Linked DNA regions of Homo sapiens: regions 2, 3, 4 and 5 are each linked to region 1. Evidence: promoter capture Hi-C in 16 types of primary human blood cells and fetal thymus (Javierre and others, 2016). All regions are on one chromosome and are shown on one strand. The core of a region is centred on a gene start or on the middle of the fragment in contact, and the rest is flanking DNA. Distances in the headings are between cores, read along the strand shown.

The links. The method cuts DNA at HindIII sites, captures the fragments that hold promoters and counts their contacts. A CHiCAGO score of 5 or more calls a contact.
Region 2: a fragment that was not itself captured here is called in contact with the fragment with the promoter of DOCK10 in region 1 in 1 of 17 cell types (total B cells); the score reaches 5.5 in total B cells.
Region 3: a contact is called between a fragment that was not itself captured here and the fragment with the promoter of DOCK10 in region 1, in 4 of 17 cell types (activated CD4 T cells, naive CD8 T cells, non-activated CD4 T cells and 1 more). The highest score is 13.0, in activated CD4 T cells.
Region 4: a contact is called between a fragment that was not itself captured here and the fragment with the promoter of DOCK10 in region 1, in 2 of 17 cell types (fetal thymus and total B cells). The highest score is 5.3, in fetal thymus.
Region 5: a contact is called between the fragment with the promoter of WDFY1 here and the fragment with the promoter of DOCK10 in region 1, in 1 of 17 cell types (activated CD4 T cells). The highest score is 5.7, in activated CD4 T cells.

What each region holds. Positions count from the first base shown.
Region 1 is chr2:225,040,109-225,045,112 of GRCh38, forward strand. DOCK10 (dedicator of cytokinesis 10) reads right to left here and starts at 2,360. Exons shown (of 56, transcript NM_014689.3): 1 at 2,144-2,360. The coding sequence starts at 2,266. RefSeq lists an enhancer at 1,067-1,406 and silencers at 1,957-2,196, 2,387-2,756. The HindIII fragment of the contact is 1,396 bases long and covers 1,065-2,460 here.
Region 2 is chr2:226,903,999-226,909,002 of GRCh38, forward strand. It overlaps RHBDD1 (rhomboid domain containing 1), which reads left to right. Exons shown (of 9, transcript NM_001167608.3): 6 at 2,795-2,883; 7 at 4,824-4,880. Among named protein-coding and RNA genes, the nearest start is that of RHBDD1, 70 kb to the left of the region's middle. RefSeq lists a silencer at 849-998. The HindIII fragment of the contact is 2,206 bases long and covers 1,177-3,382 here.
Region 3 is chr2:226,837,133-226,842,136 of GRCh38, forward strand. RHBDD1 (rhomboid domain containing 1) reads left to right here. Exons shown (of 9, transcript NM_001167608.3): 2 at 941-1,022; 3 at 2,277-2,495. Among named protein-coding and RNA genes, the nearest start is that of RHBDD1, 3.6 kb to the left of the region's middle. The HindIII fragment of the contact is 703 bases long and covers 1,620-2,322 here.
Region 4 is chr2:226,773,662-226,778,665 of GRCh38, forward strand. All of the region lies in intron 1 of IRS1 (insulin receptor substrate 1), which reads right to left. Among named protein-coding and RNA genes, the nearest start is that of IRS1, 24 kb to the right of the region's middle. The HindIII fragment of the contact is 4,590 bases long and covers 1-3,698 here.
Region 5 is chr2:223,942,626-223,947,629 of GRCh38, forward strand. WDFY1 (WD repeat and FYVE domain containing 1) reads right to left here and starts at 2,710. Exons shown (of 12, transcript NM_020830.5): 1 at 2,523-2,710. The coding sequence starts at 2,659. It overlaps LOC124907989 (a long non-coding RNA gene), which reads left to right and starts at 599. Exons shown (of 2, transcript XR_007088100.1): 1 at 599-1,782. RefSeq lists enhancers at 1,522-1,641, 1,652-1,711 and a silencer at 2,282-2,461. The HindIII fragment of the contact is 5,306 bases long and covers 955-5,004 here.

The DNA of each region.
Region 1 (5,004 bases), core at 1,110-3,609:
AAGATTAGTCTCTACCACATAGTCCAATGACACGGTTTTAGGTTCAGAAGGGATGCTCTACACCCACAGAATCCCACCGAGTTCAGGTGCCAGCTCAGAGAACTCATCACCTTCCTGTTTCCCTTCAAGAGTTAACTGATGGGATAGTATGCAAAGCACATGCGTTCTTGCTGCCAAAATAGCAGCCAAAACTGCCTGCCTAGATGTGTAAGATCCCATGAAATGTCTTGGCAAAAGCTAGTTTAGGAGTGTTGGCCAAGGTGCTGAAGCGAAGCAAGGGGAGTCAGGACCACCTTTGCCACTGAATCTCCCCTCCCCCACCTCTTTTTAAAGACAGCGAGCTTATTCATTTTGACAAGATACCCTAGGATTTCAAATCTGACATAATTTTGGAGAAAGCAGTGCGTGTGTGTGTGTGTGTGTGTGTGTGTGTGTGTGGTGTAGAAGGGTATCTGGGATACATAATCTTTATAGAAATTCTAGTGCCACAAAAATTCTAGGAGGATCTACATTTAAAAAAACACACAACAGTTTAAGCTGTTTATTCCAATTGAACGCTGTGTGTTTCCATCAGATCCTCAGTGAGATTCAGTCCAATGAGTCAATTGCAAAATAAAGTTTTTGTCAAGGGAATGGCAGAAAATGACAAAACCACAATTCTGAATGATCATTCAAAAGTAAAAAGTACTTTCTACTACTGTGTGGAGATTTTCTTATCTCTACTTTTACTCGAATTGAATCTTTTCTTCTAATGTTCTTTTGAACAGTTTGTCTTTGGTGTCCTGAAAATGTGCACGCTGATAGCAGTACCACATGCTGTCCCTGGCACAGAGTGAGCTAACAGTTGAACCACCTCTGGGTAACTGCGGACTGCAGCTAGTGTAAGTGCAAGAGAAGGCACCCTGGCCACCAATTCGTTTCACACTCCAATCACCCCCGCCCGCTCTACACCCCCTGGGCACCCGATGCCTCTTCCCTCTGCCAGGCAATTTGCTTCCGTTCTGTTCAACTTTCCGACCTCTGGCTTTAGAGAATAGTCCTGGCTGTGGGAACTGGCTCTGGGAAGCTTTTGGCGCCCTCCTCATTGGTGACTGGCAAGAGTAACACTTTCACACTCTTAAAAAGAGCCGTTTAGTTCCTAATGATATTTTCTGGCAAAAAAGAAAATGAAACACACAACCCGGATTCCGGTCCACCAAACGCAGGCCAAGAGCGCGGCTGCTGAGCCCCGGTCTTGCTGTGAGGCTGTTGTTCCCACTCGCTTCCCGTTTCCACTAGAGTTGATTTGTCTCTTGCCACCTCTCCCCGGCAGTGTGGACCTACTGCAACGCAGGAACATCTGGGTTGGTATGGATAGGATCCTAGCATCAGATGCTGGCTGCTGCCCCAGGGACTTCCCGCGGAAATCACCCAGCACTTAGAAGCCGTTTCAATAAGGAAGTAACCAGTAAAGCATTGCTGGTGGGAGAACCCCGCGAAACATCTTAGAAAAATATCAGAAACCGCTGGAGACCTAATGACCCACGTCTCCTCCAGCCTGTGTTCCTCAGCCCTTTCTGGAGGAGTATTAAGTGGTTTGTGGGTTTTTACCCTGCGGTGGGAGGGCTGTTCCAAGTACATCTATTTCTGCGATAGTTAACGTCGGGGGGCCCCAGCTCTAACCAGGGCGAGGACCACGGACTGCATCCCTCTCTCTCAGCGCACTGGTCTGTTTACTGGAGGGTGAGAGGGACGCGCAGACCTCCGGACTCAGGGGTTCTGTTCTGTAGATCCCCCCACCCCACCCGGGGTCTCTGGCACTCGTATCACTTAGCACCAGTGTGACTGGCGGTGCATTCCGGCCCCCTCGCGCCCCATTAAAGCCCCTGCACATCCTCTCCCACGCTGCGCTTCTGCTACCCACGCAGCTGCTCCTCTGAGCGTCCCGCGTGCACAAACGCGCCCCCGGTCCTTACGCGTCGGTGGCGCTGCCTCGCTGAGGTGGCGCCGGGGGAGCCCGCAGAGGCGGCGGGGGAGGGAGTGCGGAGGAGAGGACCCGTGAGCTGCGGGGACCTGGGCCCGCCGAGCTTTTGGGGAAGCTGGGCTCCGTTCCCCCCGGGCGCCTGGGGCGCGCGGGAAGGCGCGGAGGACGCGCCGCACTCACCCGCTGCTGCTGCCGGCTGCTGACTGCCACCGCGGCGGCGGACGCGGCGCTGTGCCGGAGCTCGGCCGCCTGCCCAGGTCTCAACAGGCTCCGGGTGAACCTGCGGGTCCGCTCACCGGCCATCGCCGGTCACGCCAATCGCGCCGCGGGCCCGGGGCGCGCCTCCCGCCGGTCTTCCCCGCGCCAACCTTCTCTATCCACCCGCCGTTCAGGAAGCGGAACTCGGAGCCTTCCCCCCCCTCTTCCTCGCTCAACTCGCAAGAGGCGGGTTTTTCTCTCTTGCACCCCCACTCTTCCCACCCCCTTCCCTCCTCTGAAGCTTCTCGAAGACTTTCCAAACTCTGCGCTCCCCCGGGCGCGCGCGGCCAACTCGGCTGGCGGCCGGGCCCTGCAGCGGCGCATCTGGAGCGGGCGTCGCGGGACGCGTGTGGGGCGGCTCCTGCCCGCGCCGCCCACACGGGCTCAGCTGGCCGGCCGGGGCTGTCCACGCCGCCCGGGGGAACTGCAGGCTGCGGGGGAGGGCGGGGGGCGGCCGCCGAGGGGCTCCGGGCGGGGCCTGTCCAAGGCCGTCGCCTGTCCAAGGCCGTCAGCCTCATTTGGAGGTTGCTGGGAGAGTTGGAGCCCTGGATGCATTTGCCGTTTAGACTTCTATTTTCTGGGTCCGGCTAGTGGGTGGGGGCCAAGCTCGGTTCGCCCTTCCACCCTCGGGAAGGGGTCAGAGGCTTATTAAAGATCTGGTGGCTGGGATCCCAGCAGCATCGCCCAAGCCAGCGTTTGGAAGGCTCCCTTGCCAGAAGTCCATGTTCAGGGCCTTGGAATAAGCTTCCCCATTCATTCACTCCTTCAATGAGTATTTATTAAGCGCCTACTATATGCCAGCTCACACTGTTCTGGAAACTGAGGATACGGAGAGGAACTTAGCAACTACACTTTAAGGCTGTGTAGAGCTGATAGGTTTTTTCGGGGTAGGGGTGGGAGACAGCAAGTAACCAAGCGAACAAATAAACAAATACAGAGAAATCAAGGAGACAGTTTAAGCTACTAACACGAACTCAAAACCAATAAATCAGCGTTCTGGGGGTAAGAGACTTTGGGTGGCATTAGGATGAGTAGGCAAGAACCAACTGGCAGGGTTACTATGTAGGGTGGTCAGGTCGGGGGTGGATTTCACAGTTATGCTGTCTCTGCTCTTCTCTTGCCCATACCCATCTAGCCTGCACTTTGCCTCTAGATAGGTATCTGATGAAAGCCTTCTAAGAAGTCTCTTCCTGGGTCATACCCAGGGTGGTTCTGCAATTCAGTGTTGGACTGGATGGGGGGCAGAGAAGTTCTGGCCCCTGGATACTGGTCTGGAGAGATCTGGGACAGCCTTTCCAAGTGGTCTGGTTTTTTCTTAACAGCTTTTTATGGATCCATGACCCTGCCACTTTCTAAAGCCAATGATAGATAGTTATAACACAAGGTCACATTTGGGTATAAAGAATTCTTAAGCAATTGATAAATGCACTTTAGTCAGCTCTTTGTTAGCCAGGATTCAATTAGCCAGAGATGCTGTTTGGGGATCATTTCAGCACATTCTAGAAATCATAACAGGCGTAAGAGGGTAAGAGGCTCTGGCAGATTTGGGAAGTGCCATTTGAAACATCATCTAGTTCCAAGACAGCCTGCATAACAAATAACTGTACCTGTATTGTATGCTTTCATATTGGTACTCAGTGTGGGAGCAACACCACCTTTCAGGGTAAGCAAAGTAGGTGGTTGCCTCTGTGTTGGTACATGAAGATCTCTGTAGGAACAGCTCCCTCCAACCGTACCCTTTCCCAGGTGTACCCAGACTTGATGTCTCTGAATGCATATTCCCCTGAGAGAACCGATTAAGCACATTTGAATTAACTTGAGCTTCCCAAGAAGAGGTACCTAATCTTTGTCTCTGGTTTCAAAACACTGCCTGGCACACGTAGGCACTCAATAAATATCAGCTTATGGATGACTTTACAAAGGGCTCAGATGGGCTAGTGCAGTCAGAGAGCTGGGTGTGCCTGACACAGAGAAAGTCAGAGAGGAGAAGAGAAAGGTGTGCTGAAAGGGAAGGCTATAGTAATCGATAATACATCAGAATGTGCCCTGCACAAGGCAACTCGCTGATCCAAAACACTGAGTAGCACACACAACCCAATCTCCAACAATATCGAGTAACAGAAAGTCACTTACAATTTGTTAATCGTACAATTAATACACCTAATTGTACTTTTTCCAGCTTCAGGAGGTCACCCAGAGCACTGGTGTGAGAGGGTTTAACGAACAAATGCCTGTTTGCCCAATCCATACCCTGTATGATGTTAATTCCGTGGGTCACACCGAGTAGGAAGGCAGGTTTAAGTGTTGATAGCATACCTCTCACACCCAGGGCATGTCAATAATGATACTTCAGAGACTCTCCTCCGCCCTTATGATCATGTAGGTTTTAGTTAAGCTTCCTTCGGGCACCAAGGAGAGAGAGCTGAGTGTCGACCCTTGCCCCTGCCCTTGTAGCATAAATACACTTATTTTTTGCTACAGAAATGTAACTTCAGGTCTGCTGATTTGGGACCTTGACTCTGCTGGCCACCCATCTCTCAGATCCCTGGAGAAACTCGGCTCAGATGCTTGGTAAACGCAAATCTGTGCACATATCATGAAGTATGTTAAGTTTCTTGGAACAGCTAGTTAATAAGAGAATCTTCAAGGGCTTGTAATATTGTAGAATAGTGGTTAAAATACATGCTCTGAAGTCCAATTACCTTTGTTCAAATCCCAACTCCGTAAGCCTCAGTTTCTTACCTACGCAATCAAGATAGTAGTTGTGTGGCTGGGCTGCTGAG
Region 2 (5,004 bases), core at 1,030-3,529, 1.9 Mb after region 1:
CCACCTCCCCATCCATCCCACTGGGAGCCACCTCCATCACCCAATAAAAGCCCCACATTCATCCTTCAAGTCCACGTGTGATCTGATTTTTCCTGGATGCCAGAGAAGAAACAGGGAAACAGAAAACTTTCACACTGGCCCTCTGCCTTTGTGGAAAGGCAGAGGGTTCACTGAGCTGTCTAACCCTTAAGCTGCCTGTGGACCGCAAGGTTAAAAGAGCGCACTGTAACACACACCCACTTGGGTTTCAGGAGTCGCAGATACACACCCCTGGACGTTGCCGTGAGGCTGAAGCCTAGGGGCACTCATCCCAGCTCCTGCACCTGCCCATCTGTGTGCTCCCCTTCCCGTAAGGGGTTTAAGCATGCACGGTCACCAAACAGACAAGTTACACCACTGTGGCACATCCTGCAAGCGGGGGGGGAGGGGGGTCAGGGAACTCCTGTTTCAGTAGATATATCTGATGAAAATAATGCTCTCCTGAGGGGATGATCGTGTATGTGGTGTGTGTGCGTGTCTGTGTGTGTGTGCACGCGCATGCATGTGCCATGACTTTTAGCACGTGTGCATGTATGTGAGGGCTTGTCTGGGCAATAGTGTCATTTAGTCAGCTAATGGGAACAAGCATCAATGCTGTTCTCTTTACAAGGCTCCTGTTTGTCTCTTTCTTTCAAGTGTTCCTCATTGCATGTTCTTTTCCTGAGAGCCAGCGAGTCTTTTCATAGCTTGGAGACAAAGAAAATTACTCAGAACCATCTTGCTTGTGGTGTTTCAGGGAATCTCCCCTAGGCTGCTGCCATAGTAGGCGAAATGTATTGGTTTTGACTCTGAGTCTCGTGTAGGTTACCAAATGGCGGATTCTTAGCTCTGTGATTGCCGTGGCTCAGCAAGCACCCTGAGCTGAACATCTAGTGGTTTTAACTTACCTCCTGTTGGTCTTGGTGAAACGGTCCTGGCACACTTGAGCCATTTACTCAACATATCCTTGAGTGCCTCTCATGTGCCTGGCCCTGTCCTGGGTGTTTGGAATACATATGTAAAAGCCACATAAAGGCTATGTTCTTGGAGTCTCCATCAGGCTCTTTCATAACTTTCAGTTTCCCACCTTCTGGAATGAGAGGTCACTATTCCAGGCTGTGGGAATGCGTTCATTTGCTTGGCTTTTTTTTTTTTTTAAGCTTCTAATTTTGTATAATGTATGAATGAGACACCATTGCTGCCCTCAGGGAGTTTGTGTGTGACAGAGAGAGACGGACAGGCAGGCAGACGTGTAAGTACTGTGCCACCAGCAGACTGGCTTCGTGCCAGAATAAGGTAGGAGCCTCAGCTCTGAGGGGAGGCAGGAGAAGGAAAGAACGGCTCTTCAACTGGGGTGGCATTTTTTGACAGAGGTGCTGTTTGGCTTAGCCTATGGTCAGAGAGTGCTTGGGGGATGTGACAGTGGGGCATGTGGGAATGGAGGTAGTAGACGATGAGGTCTCCACCCTCTGACTTTGCAGAGATGGGCAAGGCCAAGTGTTGGAAGGGCTTAAACACACACCGGAGTATTCTGTGAGAACCAGTGGATTTCAGAGGATGGCAATGACACCACTTGCCTTCTGCCTCAGGAGGATAACTGATGGCCGTGTGTGGGATGCACTGGAGAGCAAGAGCTGGCTTGCAGGGAGACCAGCTGGATGATTTTCTTTCATTTATTTTATTCATTCAACACACATTCATCTGGGGTTCACTCTGTGCCCAACACTGGGCATTTCCAAATAGTCCAGATGGCAGTAAGCATGGTTGTGGCAGTAGGAATGGGAAGGCTGGGAGGGGTATGAGAGGCATTACAAACGGGAAGTGGGAGTGGCACCCCAGAAAAGTCTAGTTTAAGGTGCTAGTGGATGTGTGCATGTGTGCGCGGGGGTGTCTAGAGGGTGGCGGGCAGCTGGAAATTGAGGTCAAGTGCTTAAAGAACAACTCGTTGTGTAGGACCCCCCCCTTTGTGGTAACAGCAGAGGTTTTTGAGAATCGCCAGTAATTTCTTAAACTCAGGCTGGTTGGGAGGTCATTCAGCCAGGGAACTCCACAAAGAGTGTTGCCACTTGGGTCAAAGTAGACCTCTGAAAATAAATCTTACAAGTAATTGCTGGTTTTAGATGCCAGTTTAAGAAGAGTTAAACCACTGTCATGCCCTAACGCAAACACTTTCATGCCCTAACTCATCTTTCAAGTTTGAAATTTAAATGTATGTTTCTTTGTTCTGAGTGACTGAAACATACACATGAAGACAACTTTGGTGGATGCAGGTGGGCATCTCAGTTCCTTTTGCTGAGTTTCACTTGCTCTCTGCTTCACTCATCCATGGTGTAGAAAACTGCAGCAGTCTGCCCTGCCATAACACAGATAGACATCATCCCTCACAATGGCTGGATAATTCCAGATTTAATGCCAAACAGAGAAAACTGATTTTATTTATGTTTTGTGATAAGAGGTACAGAAAAAAAACGGAAAGCGATGTAATGACTTGTCTTGACCAAATGCTTCCACTGCTCTGGAGGAGACAACCCACTTCCCCTGGTTAAGGAGGGGTGTTGCGTTTTAAACATGTGGTGGTTGTTATTCATTGTACTTTTTTTTAAGGTAGGAGATGTTGTTCTTTGGACTGAGTTAAATGCTGCTTAGCATAAAAGACTTGATGTGGAACAAAGCCTGCAGACTGTGACTATTTGACATGCACTGGGCTAATGAGAAGACAGAATGTCTCTAATCAGCAGCAGAACAAACACTCACAAAGGGTCTCCTTCCCTCCTAGGACTTCCTTCGCTGGGCATCTGGCTGGGATTCTTGTTGGACTAATGTACACTCAAGGGCCTCTGAAGAAAATCATGGAAGCATGTGCAGGTACAGAATAAAACACCTTTGGCATGACAACAGCTTGGAAGTTCATGTTAATTTTAATGTGAACAGAAGCAACCCCAAGTTTCCCTGTGGTTCAGCTCAAGAATTCCCTAATATGCCTGTTTTTCTTTTTAAACCGAAAGGTAAAACAACCAGTGCAGTTCCTTACATTGCTCCACAAAAGAGGCTGCAAACTTAAATTTCGAATCTGATACTTTCTTAGGGGACAAATATCAGTATATATTTATACCCTCAACCTTAATGCTACCCGCAGAAAACCACGATTTCCTAAAGAATGCAGAGAACTAAAGTGCCTTTAAAATAATGCATTCTTCTATAATAGTCCATGAATTAATATACGTGCAAGGCAAAGGTGAAAAAGAAAACAAAGCCTGGACTGAAGTGCATGGCCAGTATTTTAAAGAATTCAGACTGATGACCGGGTCCTTGGTGGATGAGCCATATATTCATGCATGGCGAAACCAAGTCTGTTATTGCTTGAAGCTTAGCTCCTGCTTTTTTTAATTTTGTTTTTCCCTTCAAATTGATACTCAATGAAAATATTTCATTTAGAAATACTTGTATTTTTTAGACCTCTTAATTTTCAATGCGATTCTCATTTTGACTTGTAAGAAAACTGGTTTGCAAACACTTGTTTTATAGACTGAGTTCCACTATTTCATCTTTTATTCATGGGAAGTCTTCTGAGACTATTTTACCTTTTCTTGAACCATAAATAATTTGTTTCACAGTTTGTGCTGATGACTGGTATTCTTGAGAACCATATAATATTCATGATAGTAGAAAGCTTTCCAGGCACTGCACTGGCACCTTTATTAGCAGGTCGTGTTCACTTTTGGTTGATTTTTACAGGCTGTGTTGCATTTAAGCAGATCCTCATTTTCCCACGTTTGCTTATTAATGTGTTTCCACTGTACGTACTTAGAGGAGGCAGTGGGAGCTTCATTTATTGAAAATGTCCAGTTTTATTGTATTTTCAATACAATTTAATACTCATTAGTACTGATAAAAGAGATGATTCTCGGGAGTTTAATGTCTTGTTTCTTTTTTCTGTGTCTCATGATGAAGCGGTTAGTAAAGCTTTTTGCAGACATGTTATGAAATTTAAGCAAGTGCTTTGTTTAATTTTTAAAGAGGATTTTCCCCTAATTATAATATTTAAACTCTTAGTTTTAAAAGCCTTAAAAAATAAGTGGTGACTTATTTCTACACCACTCCATTTTCAAAGTAATAAATACAATAGCAAATTAAATAGGAAAATTAGAACACTCAGTGCAATTTGCAAATAGCCTGCGAACTCGGCCTTTTTTCTGTGAGCTGAGAATTGAAGGACACAGGAACCCCATGGAAAACGACCCAGCATGTGGAAGCTGCTGTCTGATGCCTCCTGGAAGAGGAGGGTCACCCTGAGGGTGTGGCCCTTGGCCCTCCCTCTCTCATTTCATTCAGCCGTGCCAAATTGACTGAGTAGACAGTCCTACTGCCTTCTGTAGGGACAAGAAAGAGTGAAGTCCCCTAGGAAGGGTAGGGAGGATGGCTCTCCTAACACCTTCTTTGAGGAAGGTTCTCCATTTAGCCAGAGTGTCTCTGCTTGTACAGAGACATCAAAGCCGAGGCTTGGTACTTTGGCAGGCAAAGACTAAGGAACTTCAGTGAGTGTAAATTAGGGTTTCATTTTCCACTACACACACACACACACACACACACACACACACACACACATTCTTTTCCCTGTAGGGACACACACACACTCTTTTCCAGTTAGGGCTGGCCCCCAAACAAAAGGGAGTTTATTTTAATAAGTGTTTAGAAATCATTTGAAATGACCTTGGGCTTTGTCCAGAGAACTTTCTAATTACTGGAACAATTAGCATTTAAAGCTTTATGGCTGCCATTAAAATGTTTATTTCTTTTACGTTTAGGCGGTTTTTCCTCCAGTGTTGGTTACCCAGGACGGCAATACTACTTTAATAGTTCAGGTAGGCACTGTATTTCATTTAATAAATTTTAACTTATTTTTAAAATTATAGTGTTCAGCTCTACAGAGTACTTTAGGATACTACTAGTTTCTGCTGTGGTAGGGTCATTCACATGTTGTGTAAC
Region 3 (5,004 bases), core at 721-3,220, 1.8 Mb after region 1:
GAATTTGAATTGAAGTAATTCCTAGATGGAAAAACTTGGACATGTTACCTCACAGGGCTGGAATATGAAGATGCAAGAAAAATGTTTAACACAAAACACATAGAAAACCCTCAAAGATGTTATTAAGTAACTTATTAGAACTGCATAAAATAAGTACATAGTTTGTGCTGGAAGGATTCTTCAGCGGGGTAGATATGAGCTGTAGCGCATGGATATTGGGACTGCTGCTTAGAGGGTATTTTGTTTACCTCGGGATTCTCAATTCTGTGTAGTCAAGGTTGTTGGATGCAGGATATTCAGTTAAAAGTTAAAGCAGTGCATACTAATGCTATTGTGGTTGTAGGATTTTTAAGAATAGCATTAGTATTTATGTTGAAGAGTAGTTTTTAATTCTTTGGCCTTCTGATCTCTTCAGCTTTGTTTGGAGACAGTCTCTTTCTGCCACCCAGGCTGGAGTGCAATGGTGCAATCTTGGATCACTGTAACCGCTGCCTCCAGGGTTCAAACGATTCTCCTGCCTCAGCTTCCCAGGTAGCTGGGATTACAGGCGTCTGCCACCACGCCCAGCTAATTTTTGTATTTTTAGTAGAGACGGTTTCACCACGTTTGCCAAGCTGGTCCCGAACTCCTGACCTCAGGTAATCCACCTGCCTCGTCTTCAGTTTAGTTATACCTTCTTTGACCCAGAATTTGGTAAAGACCAGAGGTAAGCACTAGTTTTAGAGTTGAGAATTATTGTAACATAGTGACTTGCAAGCGAAAGCCAAGGCTGAATATGTTTCTGTCCTTATCTTTGTTTCCCATATGTCGTACAACTCCACGGTAGCAAAGATCTCATGTCTACTCTAGATACCTCCATTTTCAGGAAGGATCACAGGAGTGCCCTCAACCTGCTGTGTTTTTTAGATGCAGTATTTTCTTACAACTTTATCTCTTTCAGGGGTCCATTGTAGGGGGAGAAAGAAATATTCAGGATTTAAAGCAGCTGCTCTAAAGGCTACATTCACTGCAATGTTGAGAAGGTCAGTGCCAAACCGTGGCCTACACATGTCGTTTTGATGAGAGCACGCTGCTCCCAAGGCTATACCATGGCTCCTGGATATTGAGAGAGTTTTCAGATAAACATAAGTCACTTTGAATGGATTATTCTGGAAATAATTTCGTTAGCTCTGCCACCAAATTGGCACTGCCCCATCATGAAATGTTTATTTTTCGAAGGCATTAAATATTTTTTTTTGTTCTCCTCATCGGAGAGGCAGATCGCTATCTGTGGTTTTAGGTCAGACAAGCCCTGCTCTGAATCTTGCCTCTGCTACTTAGTGATTGTGTACATTAGACAAATTAACATCCTCCCCACTTGAATTTCTGTAAAGTAGGAGTCATAGGATGTGCTACTTCAGGCCATTGAATTAAATGAAATAACGCATAAAACACGTCCACCTTGTTTTAGGCACAGAGGCTCAGTAAATGTTGTGTGTCGGACAAAGGGAAAAAAGGTATTTGTTGTCTCAAACCTAACTTTATGCCATTCATTTTATAATATTTTTATAAATGAGGTAATTTTATTACCTAACTGCACTGCTTTTCTTTTTAACCATAAAATGCTGAAATGGAGTCAAAGCTTTCATATTATTGTGAATGAGAAAAAACAAACACTTGAAAAAAGTTGAAACTTTAACGTGAAAAAACACCATCTTCAGTTTTATCACTGTAACAGAGCAACTTGTAGAAATTGTTTTGGATGTTTACAGCAAGGTAAACATCCAAAGGTCAGGGGATGAGTAATAAAGTATCTTCTGTTAGTTAATGGGGACAGTCAGCTAGAGAAGGGGACACTGTTACAGGAAATGAGACCTCGTTGAAGGTATGCATCAAAGGATGAGAAAATGCTGTTAGCCCTGAAATTGCTAATATTTTTTTAAAACACGAATTCTTAATAGCAAAGTGAAAAGTTTTACATTACATTTTTTAATAAGGGATAACAAAATCTCTTACATGTATTTCTGTGTGTTTATATTGTATATGAATGTATGAGTGCAGAAAATACTTGACTCACACTAGGTCATAATTTTATTTGTCAGTATATTGGAATATGGGGGTGGGGACCAAGTATAAAAGGAAATTTTCTATATATGTAAAATTAGATACGTACATGTATATGTAAATGTTCTTTAAAAAAACTATTAAAAACGGAAGCGATTCTTTAAAAGGTAGATTTCCTTTTATGTTGCAGTCATAGCCACGTAAGCAATGGACCTCATATTTTTTTTCAACAGGGAGCCTCTTAAACAGAATCTTACCTGTAAAACTCAGGAGCCGAGAAGCTTTAAGAACAGTGAGGTTGAAGGGCACAGGCTCTTGGTCCTTGGCAGCGATATTAGGAGGCGTGCCTAGGGAACCTCGGATTCCGGGGAGCTGGACGTGAAACTCTGTGGTGGAATAGAAATCCTCAGGGCATGAGCTATACCTAAAACGTAATGGTATTAAGAATTCTGGTAAGTGGGATTCACAAACTTGTTCTGAAGACAATTTCCAAGGTTGTCAGCCATGTCACCATATGGATGGCTTCTCATGCAGAGGAGTGAGTGATTATTGAGAAAAAAAAAAACCCACCTGACCCGTATTTTACAAAGTAGGATTCTGTGCACTTTTTTGAGGAATTAGCTTTTTAAAAAATCCCTCCAAGTTGTGACAGCTGTATCGCTATTAAAAGCTATTTGGCATTTTAACTGACTGTTGTTTAGGATTACAAATGACTCGGGGAAAAAGAAACAAGGAGTCAAAGGAAGTGTATTACTTGTGTTTATAGCCCTATCATTTTTTTGTTGTATGGAAGCAACTACTCTATATTTATATAGTAAAGTGTTTTTTTAGAGTTAATTTTTAGTTAATAATGAGCCTTCATAAGAAAAATAATTTCAAATGCTAAGTATTTGTTAGATTGTTACTAATAGTGGTAGTTAGTGATATTACATTGTCTTTTTCACACATTGAAGAGGGTTTCCTGGTGACAGCTGGAGCTTGGGGGAGGGGGAGTTACTTTCAATCAACCAGCTGCTTTGTGGCAATATCATGATGGTGATATTTCAAAGCCCATAGATAACTTTGGCTGTTTCAGGAAAGAAAATCTATCAAATTTCTGGGAAGCAACAGATAATGGGCAAGAGACCTTTGGGATCTACGTGATGGCCAACTAACAATGTGTGCATTCCGGTTTGCATGTTGGGGTTATTTACCATCTAGTTTCTTGGACATTGTTACATGCACCTCATAATTACACAGTAATAGAATCTAGCTCTAAGGGCAGGAAAATCTCATTAAGGAGAGGAAAGGAGAGTGAAAAACCTTGGTGATGCACTGCACGCTTTAACATAATACCCTATTTCATTTATTCTTGATGGTGATTCTAGAATGTAAGTGGAATTTTTTGCCATCTATGGATAAAGAAACAGAAGCTCTACAGTACTGGTTGTATGATTTGCCCAAGGCCACATACTAGTACATGATGGCCTCCATATTTGACCCCAGATCTTCTGGCATTAGCTCTAGGAATGTTGTCATTACACCAACAGCTGTTTCTCCAGGTGTTAACTTGCTTATGCATTTTTAATGCAAAGTCACAATATCAGGATAGTAATGAATGAAATAAATATAAATGTTACTTACAATGACTTCAGTTTTATAAATAATATATAGGGGTGTGTGTGTGGACTTGTGTGTATGTGTGTTTTGGCAACTACATATAATTTGGGTTTTTTTTTTCTTAAGTAAAAAGTCTCTTGGGCAATACTGTGAAAAAAATTTCACTACGTTTTTTAAAAATATATTACTGATACCAGCAATATTGCAATTATGTGTGTTGCAATGAATCAGTTGTGATTCTAAATTTGAACAAACCTAGGAATGAATTTTGTGCATACTGCCCATGTAGTCGCCCTCATCCTAACATATTGAAGGAAATTTCTTGTTTTTTTCTTTCAAGGCGTATTCATTTTTCATTCATTTATTTATTTTTTTTGAGACAGAGTCTCACTCTGTTACCTAGATTGGAGTGCAGTGGTGTGATCTTGACTCACTGCAGCCGGGACCTCCTGGGCTCAGTTGATCCTCCCACCTCAGCCTCCCTAGTAGCTGGGACTACAGACATGTGCCACCACACCCAGCTAATTTTTTTTTCTTCAGCTTTTAAGTTCAAGGGTACGTGTGTAGGATGTGCAGGTTTGTTACATAGGTAAACATGTGCCATGGTGGTTTGCTGCACAGATCATCCTGTCACCTAGGTATTAAGCCCCACATCCATTAGCTATTGTTCCTCCCTGCCTACCACACCTCCCTGACAGGCCCCAGTGTGTGGTGGCTCCCTGCTCTGTGTCCATGTGTTCTCATCATTTAGCTCCCAGTTATAAGTGAGAACATGCAGTGTTTGGTTTTCTGTTCCCATGTCAGTTTGCTGAGGATAATGGCTTCTAGCTTTATCCATGTCCCTGCAAAGGACATGATTTCATTCCTTTGTGTGGCTGCATAATATTTCATATGTACCACATCTTCTTTATCCATCTATCATTGATGGGCATTTAGGTCAATTCCATGTTTTTGCTATTGTGAATAGTGCCACATTTAACATATGCATGCATGTATCTTTATAATAGAATGATTTCTATTCCTTTGGGTATATACCCAGTAATGGCAATGCTGGGTCTAATGGTATTTCTACCTCTAGGTCTTTGAGGAATCGCCAGTCTGTCTTACACAGTGGTTGAACTAACTTATACTTCCACCAACAGTGTAGTAGCATTCTGTTTTCCCTGCAACCTCGCCAGCATGTGTTGTTTTTTGACTTTTTAATAATAGCCATTCTGACTGGCATGAGATAGTATCTCATTGTGGTTTTGATTTGCATTTCTCTAATGATCAGTGATGTTGAGCTTTTTTTCATATGTTTCATGGCTGCATGTATGTTTTCTTTTGAGAAGTGTCTGTTCATGTCCTTTGCCCACTTTTTAA
Region 4 (5,004 bases), core at 154-2,653, 1.7 Mb after region 1:
GGGATTTTATTTTCTTTTGCATCTCGGTCCTTAAACAAAACATGTGTGCTTTTGTGAACTCCTTCCTACACCATCGCCTGCCCCTTTACCCAGCAGCCCCTCCCCATCACATCTCCCCCAGGAAGGCGAAGAAGGGGTTTTGCCTTGGTTAACTGTAACCACTCCAGGAGAGTAGTCTTAAGGCTGATTCCATGCTGTACCTAGTAAAGGTTCAAAAGTACTTGTTGAGTGTTGAAAGACTGTATAAATATGATCCTCAAGCCCTTTTAGCTAATTGGATAGTAGCTGCCCTTTTTCACATAAAGGTGATAGACAGTGAGGCATGGCAGAATGGCCCTCCTTATGATCCCAGAGATAATTCCCTGTAGTCCAACAGAGAAAGCCCTGTTCCTACACTACAGACCAGGCAGTCCAGGCAGTTCCAGATTCCCACTGGACGTCCGGAAAGCACAACAGCCAAGCCTCAATGAACTTCATTAACTTGATTCCCCGAGACTTGAGAGTCCGTTATAGTAAGAAAGAATAAAAATGTTGTAAATGTCTATACTGAATCAAAATCACAAAATACTTTTTTAAAAAGACTACTGGTAGATAGGTTCAAATAAATCTGTTTTTTAAAATGCAAATAACTGTCCTTCAAGGAAGAGGGCTTAAAAAGGCTCTGATGATCACAGTGGTTCCAAGGTGGTACATAACCTATAAAGTTCTGTCTCTGAAAAAGTAAAACACTAACATGGGGCAAATTAAAATGGAGAGAACATGGGGAAATCGGGAAGCAAATGTCCAACTATGTCCAGTGTGGAGTTGGTTTGAAACACTGTACTACAGAATGTTGGACAATTTGGGGGAGGAAAATGATGTAAAAAAAACAAGCAAACAAAAAAAATATTCAAGGTTTGGGAAAGAGCCACAAAATTAATTGAAGATTTTAAAAATAAGAATGATGAGTAAAACCTAAAAATGTTTAGTATTAAAGGAAAGCTGAGACCTGACTTCACAAATGTCTTCAAACACATGTAGAGAAACATTTCATAACAGGTTGGTGGTCTAGGTAAATAAACTATGTTTCATCCATACAAGAGTATTAACCAGCAATAAAAAGAAATGAGCTATCAAGCCACAAAAGATGTGGATGAATCTTAACTGCATATTGCTAAGTAAACGAAGCCAGCCTGATAAGAATACATACTATAATGATTCCAATTTTATGACATTCTGGAAAAGGCAAAACTGTAGAGACAATAAACAGATCAGAGATTGCCAGGGGTTGGGGAGAGAGAGGAAGGGTTGAATAAGTGAAGCACAGAGCATTTTTTAGGGCCTTGATACTATACTGCATGATACTGTAATGGTAAATACAAGTAATTAAGCATTTGTCAAAACCCAGAGAATTTATAGCACAAACAGTAAACTTTAATGTATGCAAATAAAAAAATACACCTAGGAAGTCACTGATCCCAGGATGGAATGCAGAATGTGACAAAATAATCTAAATGTGTTATAAATTCATGAAAAGACTTCAGTAAAAGAGGTAGGAGAATAAGGTGCTGACCGAAGTAACTCTGGAAATGAGGGGAACCTATAAGACTAAAGGCAAAAGAAACTTGACAGAAGCATTGTACTCTAGTTGATAAAGTTGTTTCCCATGGGGCTAGAGTTAACAATCCTGAACTGCTATGTATATGTATGCAGTGAAATTGAACAAACAATTAAATGGATCAAGGATAGTAACAGCCGGACTTCACACTGTTGAGGTGGGAGGTGACAGATAAACAAGGAGGCGAGAATGGTCCATGTGGAAATGGATTGGAGTTAGAGACAGCAATGTGAACTCATGCTTGGCTTAGTACAGATACAGATGGTTACATATAGAAATATTTATAGATATGTGTATACGTATGGGTTAGTACACACATACATTTCCATGCTCTGTCAGCTGAGAAGGCAAAGAAGAAATGACATCTCAGTAGCAACAAACACTGCTAGTTCCCAGATCTTAGTTTCCAATATAATTGTCCATCAGGTATCTGTGGGGGATTGGTTTCAGGATTCCTGTGCCTACCAAAATCCATGGATGCTCAAGTCCTTTGTATAAAATGGTGTAGTGTTTGCATATAACCTATGCACATCCTCCGGTATACTGTAAATCATCTTTAGATTACTTATGATACATAATACAATGTAGTTGCTATGTATAAGTGTTATACCGTATTGTTTAGGGAATAATGACAAGGAAAAAGTCTGTATATGTTTAGTAAAGATGCAACTATCCTTTTTTTTTTCCTTGAATAGTTTTGATTTGTGCTTGGTGAAATCCATGAATGCAGAACCCAAGGTTACAGAGGGCAGACTGTACATTCTCCAATAAAAGGAAGCAGCTCCTTAGAGAAACTGATGATTTTAGAACTGGGGCAGGAAATAAACAAGGTGATCCTGTAGTATATTGGAGTGTCAAAAAGTAAGGGAATGCTCAAAAAAAATACAAAAGCAAGAACCCACAATGATGGGAGTATGTCAAAGGGACACAGGCGCCAACTGAAAGGGCTAAAGCTGGAACAATTTGAGCAACAAAATAAAGTGTTACTGGATTATGACCTGAAGTATAAAATAAGCAGCCATGAGTCCATACTAATATAAATAGAATTGACTAAGTAAATAAGAAGCAAATCTCCTGTGCAGAAGAATCGTGTGTGAGTGTGGGGTGGTTCGGGTGGGGGTGGGTAGATAACTGCCCAATCCTTAATTGTGGGTTGTGTATTGTGACTTTCTGCCAAAGAGCACAATATGGAAAGGCGGGAAAAGGCTAAATTTATAGCAGAAAAACCTGACAAACACTCCTTCAGCCAAGTTATCAAGGTCAACATCGACCTTGAGAAATCCTGTTGATAACAGGTACACTTGATAGGTGATGAAATGGCACCTATCAAGGTGATGAAATGGCACTGTTACAAAGTGTAATCCTTGGTTGGGTGCTGTGGCTCATGCCTGCAATCCCAGCATTTTGGGAGGCCAAGGTGGGCAGATCACTTGAGGTCAGGAGTTCATGGCCAGTCTGGCCAACATGGTGAAACCCCGTCTCTACTAAAAATACAAAAATTAGCCTGGCATGGTGGCGCACACCCATAATCCCAACTACTCAGGTGCTGAGGTAGGAGAATCGCTGGAATCCAGGAGGCAGAGGCTGCAGTGAGCCAAGATCACATCACTGCACTCCAGCCTGGGCAACACAGTGAGACTCTTTGTGGTCTTCATCCCCAAAACACATTACTCAGTCTAATCATGAGAAAAACATCAGACAAATCCCAAATGAGGGACATTCTATTCCTCAAAACTGTCAAGGTCATAAAAAACAAGAAAAATCTGGGAAACTGATACAGCCTAAGGAGACACATAATATAATGATTAAATGCCATGTGGTATCCTGGATGAGACCCTAGAACAGAAAAACAAGGACATTAGGGGAAAACTGAGGAACTCTGAATAAAGTATGGACTTTAGTTAACAATAATGTGTCACATTAGTTCATTGTGACAAATGTATTATACTAATGCAAGATGTTAATAAAGGCAGAAACTAGGTATGGGGTACATAGTAAATCTCTGTACTGTCTTTGGGATAATTCTGTAAATCTGTAACTGTCCTGAAATAAAAAAGTGTATTTTAAAAATGCTATTGAGTTAAAAATGAGTGATAAAACAAGCTTAGGTGACTATATAAATATTCAGGTATTTTGTTTTCCAAAGGATTTTCAAACCTATTTAAAGTTCCTTACCACTTATAGAACCCCAAATTGTAAACTGTATTTGATGAATTATTGTTCTTCATAGAATAGTTAGATGATGGAAAATTTCTTTTAGAGGAAACTCGCTGATATGGCTTGGCTCTGTGTCCCCATCCAAATCTCATCTTGTAGCTCCCATAATTCCCATGTGTTATGAGAGGGACCCTTTGGGAGATGATTGAATCATGGGGCGGGTCTTTCCTGTGCTGCTCTCATGATAGTGAATGAGTCTCATGTGATCTGATAGTTTTAAAAACGGGGGTTTCTCTGCACAAGCTCTCTTTTTGCCTGCTTCCATCCACATAAGATGTGACTTGCTCCTCTTTACCTTCCGCCATGATTGTGAGGCCTCCCCAGCCAGGTGGAACTGTAAGCCCAATTAAACCTCTTTCTTATGTAAATTGCCCAGCCTCGGGTTTGTCTTTATCAGCAGTGTGAAAATGGACTAATCCACTGACCCTATTATTAAGTTTCAGCAAATAAATATATGTTGTATTTGAAACCCAGAAAAGTCATAGTCAGTTTAATTAGAATTGTCTCATCAATTATAAAATATTTTCTATTTATAAATATTTTTTCTAAGCATTTCTTAGAAAATTCATTTCCTGTCTTATTTCCTCTTTTAGCAAACTGATTAGTTGCAGTACCAAGGTTATGATTTTTCCATTTATTCTTCTGCATATTTAAATATGGTCATCGTGTTTTATTTTAAATTTGTTTTTAGAACTTAATAGTACTTTACAGTATATTTCTATAATTTAAATCTTCTGATAAAAATATAATTTATAGCCTCATGATTTTTAAAAAAGGCTATTTGTCACCACTACTAAAATCAGAATGAGGGAAATTCTCTCACATGTAAATGAAGGATTTAAGTTAGCGATAAAGGAATTTCCTCACCATAAAAGCTGTTATCCACTAGAAAAAGCAACCTTAAAATTGTGAGATTTCTTCTTGTGATGTATGGATTTAACAGGAATATGCCTGAAGATCTTTACTTGTAAAATACACAGCAATACCAAAGTAAAAGCTTTTTACATAAGAGCAGTTTCAAGATAGTCTTTCCTCCCAAACATTAAATAGTTTTCTAACAGAATTTAAAAAAAAAAAACTTTTGGAAAAGAAAGGTTAGAGTATATACATTACCACTTTTGCATAATAGTCTTAAAAAGAAAACTCTTTACAATACCTAGTGAAAATTACTACCATCCAAAGCTGCAACA
Region 5 (5,004 bases), core at 1,460-3,959, 1.1 Mb before region 1:
CCCGGGTTCACGCCATTCTCCTGCCTCAGCCTCCCCAGTAGCTGGGACTACAGGCGCCCGCCACCGCGCCCGGCTAATTTTTTGTATTTTTAGTAGAGACGGGGTTTCACCTTGTTAGCCAGGATGGTCTCGATCTCCTGACCTCATGATCCACCCGCCTCGGCCTCCCAAAGTGCTGGGATTACAGGCGTGAGCCACCGCGCCCGGCCCAAAGGCTAACTTTTAAAGAGTGTTGTCTGCATCTACGTTCACATCATGCAAGAGTCATTATTCTGGCCGGACACCAGTGGATCATGCTTGTAATCCCAACACTTCGGGAGGCCAAGGCGGGTGGATCACGAGGTCAGGAGATCGAGACCATCCTGACCAACATGGTGAAACCCTGTCTCTACTAAAAATAGAAAAATTAGCTGGGCGTGGTGGCAGGCGCCTATAGTCCCAGCTACTCAGGAGGTTGAGGCAGGAGAATCGCTTGAACCTGGGAGGCGGAGGTTGCAGTGAGCCAAGATGATGCCACTGCACTCCATCCAGCCTGGGTGACAGAGCAAGCCTCCATCTTAAAAAAAAAAAAAAAAAGTCATTATTCTGTCCTTGCCTTTTTCAGGTCCCCACCTTCTCCCCAGGTCTCATGCACTCGATCTCTCTCACTCCTTTCTGCTTTACAGACCCACAGCCAGGTCCTGCCAATCACTCCCCTCCTTGTTGGAAGTCAGCTACAGGTGAACCAGCAGGGAGAGGCCACTGCCTGCTCACAATCAGCTCATTATCTAATTGAGGAAAAAGGCACAAGCTCACTCAAAAGCAAAATCCAAAGGACCAACAGGAGTTGGGGGCTTCAGGCTTTTTCTTCCCATTCAGGATAGGGTCAATGTCACTTCAAAAGGTATAATTACAAAAGGCTAGAGACCACGCCTTCAGCTTTAAGAGAATAGCAGTACCTTCCATCCTCCAGAAAGCTTTTGGACTTGTGGACTATCCCTATTTAAGACGGCTCATTGCATCAAGGAAACACAGTTTCATTCAATAAACATCAGTCATTTCCTTCAAATTCCCACCGGAAAGCTACTGACATTGTAAACCTTTAGGATTTGAAAGACGCTAAAGTTTAAAGTCGAATCATAAATACTGTTCCAATCCAATCACTCAGGCCCAGAGCTGGTGGGAGTTCTGGATTGCATTTCCGGCTTCACCAGTATCTCTGTAACTTAGCAGCAAGCTACACCTCCACCAGCCTCGGCTTCCTCTTAGGAGAAATGAGAAAACTGGACCCAATCAGTGTTTCCCAAAAGCATGGTGGGCGTCCAATGCAAGATGTCACAGTGCAAGAGAGGACTCTGTGTGCATGCCAATTAACATGTTTTAGTTATTAGTTTACTCTGTCTGGTGAGTAATGTTAGTTTTCCTAATAAATAAGATTTCCTTTTAAAATAAATGCATCCAAATATTTTTAAAAATGAGTCACTTTCACAAAAACCTATTTAGTAAATAAGAGTTCAGGTGATTCTAGCAGCCGTGGCAAAAATAACTGATCTAGAGGCCTGGCGTGGCGTGAAATCCCTGAGTACAGGGGGAGGAAGAGAGCGAAGGCGGCTGGAGTTCCTCGCAAAGAAGCAAGCCCCGGGCACCAGGGTCCGCAGTGACCAGCCGCCGGTCCTCCACGCTTCCAGAGGAGACGATTTGGAACTGACCCGGGAGGGCCAAGAAACACCTTCCGAGTACCAGGCTAAACCCCGCCAGGGAGAGAGACCGGGACGAAGGTCCCAGGCTAGTGCGACACCGCAGGTCGGGGTTCCCTGGTTGGAGGAGCGCGGTGGGCTGGGAGGGGCGCGTTGGTGCGCACTGGAACAGGGGTCCCCGGCTTGAGCAGCGCGGTGAGACAGAGTTCCCGCGCTGGAGGGGCGCGGTGAGACAGAGGTCCTGGGCTGGAGAGGTGCGTTGGGGCGCACTGGAACCGGGGTCCCGGGCTTGAGTGGCGCGGTGGGACAGAGTTCCCGGGCTGGAGGGGCGCAGTGGGACAGAAGATCCGGGCTAGAGGGGCGCGGTGGGACGGAGCTCCCGGGATGGACGGGCGCAGTGGGACAAGGGTCCCGGACTGGAGGGGCGCGTTGGGGAGCATTGGAACAGGGGTCCTGAGCAGGAGGGGCGAGGTGGGCTGGGAGGGGCGCGGTAGGGCGCACTGGAACAGGGGTCCTGGGCTGGAAAGACACGTTGGAACAAGGGTCCCGGGCTTGGGCGGCGCGGTGAGACGGAGTTCCCGGGCTGGAGGGGCGCGGTGGGACAGGGGATCCGGGCTGGAGGGGCGCGGCGAGACCGGGGTCCCAGGCTGGAAAGGTGCAAGTCGAGGCTGGAGGACCGGCGGGAGGGAACCGGGAACCCGGCGGAGCTAAGGGGCGCAGAGTGGGGGTGGGGCCGTGCTGCCGGGGGAGCCCCCTCACGCAGGAAGGACCGGGGCCGCGGACCCCACCGCCCCCACACCCCGTCGTCGCGGAGTTCGGGCCGCCCCGGCTGCGCCCGGGCCCTACCTGTCCTCGCTGGCCGTGATCACGCCGTCCTCCTTGGGGATGAGCAGCGCGGCCGTGACGGCGTCCTGGTGCCCCTCGATCTTGCTCAGCAGCACCGGGCGGCTGCTCTGCGGCCTGGAGTGGATTTCGGCCGCCATGTTCGCGCGGCGACTGCTGCGGCCTCCTCGGCAGGCAGCCCATCAGCTGACGCCTGGGCGGGCGGGGGACGCGCCGGTTTCCCTTCGGCTGCTGGGGCCTCTTGGGCGCCGCGCCGCCGTAAGCCCCCGAGTGCTGCCGCCGCACCGCCCGTATTGCCTGGGGATGCCGCGCAAGCTGAAAGTCTGTGGCTGGGAGAGGATGCCACGGGGCGCCTGCGGAGAAATGGGGAAAGTAAGGAAGGTTTAAAAGTAAAGCCATTCACCCAGGAATAAATTGAGCACCTGGAGGGGACAAGGAATTGTCCCCCAAACCAGAGATTTCAGAAATTACAATACTACATTTCATCCATTTGAAGAAGCCATTGTTTGAAAGGCACACACTTTCAGAAATGTTAAAATGTGAAAAAATATAGTGCATCTTAGAATCTTTGAACTACAATAGATAGCACTGAGTGGTGACCATATACCAGGCATTAACTCAGTGTCTTTGCATCTCATTTAATACTGATAATTTTAAGAGATGAAATAGATGCTCTTGTATTCCCATTTTAGAGATGAGAAAACAACCAGAGAAGTTTGATCACTACCTTAAGGTTGCACAGCTATGAGAGGGAGAAAAGCAGCCCTTGATCTCCAGGAGCTGCCTGGTACTATCAGCTGAGCTTTGGTGTTGCTAGGAAGTGTTTGCTTCCTGTGGAACATAAACATCAGACGAGGCCACTCCATAATCACATCTAAACACGGCCAAAATATGAGCGATGTACAAGCCACAGAAATTACCAAACATCCCCCTATCCTGGCTAATATGAGTGACTCTTATTTCTTTATTAATTATAATGTTAACCGCTATCTAGTCTTCCTCCATTTAGATAAGATTTATTAAGATATGCAACCTTAGAATTATACGCATTTCCTGACAACATCCAGTCCACAGGAGAGCCTCTCTTCCTTAAGCTCTCCCAGGTCACCTAACACAAACACAAATCCTATAATAAAACTGTCCGAACATCCCTTTACCCAGACACCTCACCATTCCCAATGGTGTGTCTTCTCCCTCCAACAAGCAATCAACCCCATTTGTTCCTGGTGGTTTTTGGCTAGAGGTCATTGACAACCAGTAAGTTCAAGAGCCAAAATTTGGACTCAGGAAGTCAATGACTCCAAACTTCTGCCCCACTATATTATTCTGACACCTGAATTGCAGAATTGCATTAGAACCGTACTATCCACATGACTATAGAGCACTTGAAATGTGGCTTGTCCAAACTGAGATGTAGTACAAGTGCAAAATACTACAAGATTTTATAGACTTAGCACAAAACAAAAAAGATGTAATATAGTTCATCAATAATTGTTACAATGATTACATGTTGAAATGATACTATTTTGGATATATTGAGTTAGATACTATTAAAATTAATATGACCTGCTTATTTTTTTAAGGTAGCTAATAAAAACTTTAAATTATGGATGTGAATCAGATGGTACTTCTATGTACAGTGATTTACTAGAACTTTCTTTTTGTTTTTGTTTTGTTTTGTTTTAGTTTTTTGAGACGAACTCACTCCGTCACCCAGGCTGGAGTGCAGTGGTGCGATCTCGGTTTACGGCAACCTCCGCCTCCCAGGTTAAAGGGATTCACCTGTCTCAGCTTCCCGAGTAGCTGGGATTACAAGCACCTACCACCATGCCTGGCTAATTTTGTATTTTTACTAGAGACAGGGTTTCACCATGTTGACCAGGCTGGTCTCAAACTTCTGCCCTCAAATCATCTGCCCACCTCAGCCTCCCAAAATGCTGGGATTACGGGCAGGAGCCACCATTGTACTAATACTTTCTCATGATGAAGTTATTAACAAACATTCATGAATTTATTTATTCCTATATTCAACAGACATATATCGCACACTTACTATATGCTGTTGCTGATGAGATTAATAAGACATGGTTTTTGTGAGGCTGTACAGTGTAATGACTAGACACGCTACTGAACAACTTTGTTTAATCAACCAACATCTCCCAAGTGCCTGCTGTGAGCCAGGTGCCATTCTAAATGCAGCAGTGCTCAAGAGAGACAAAAATCCCTCTGCTGTTAGAACTTACATCCCAGTGAAGGAAACAGATAGTAAACTAAATTATATAATATATTAGAAGATGTTCAATGCTATTAAATGCTATGGAGAAAATAAAGCAGGGAAGGGTGATAGGGACTCTAGGGGATGTTGCGATTTTAAATAGATGGTGTGATAGATTCAGGAATACACTGCACAGATCTGCTTTCAGGGAAGAACAGTGGTCAGCAGAGAGCCTCTAGCCTTCAGCTCCTTCAGGGACTGCCCCAGCTG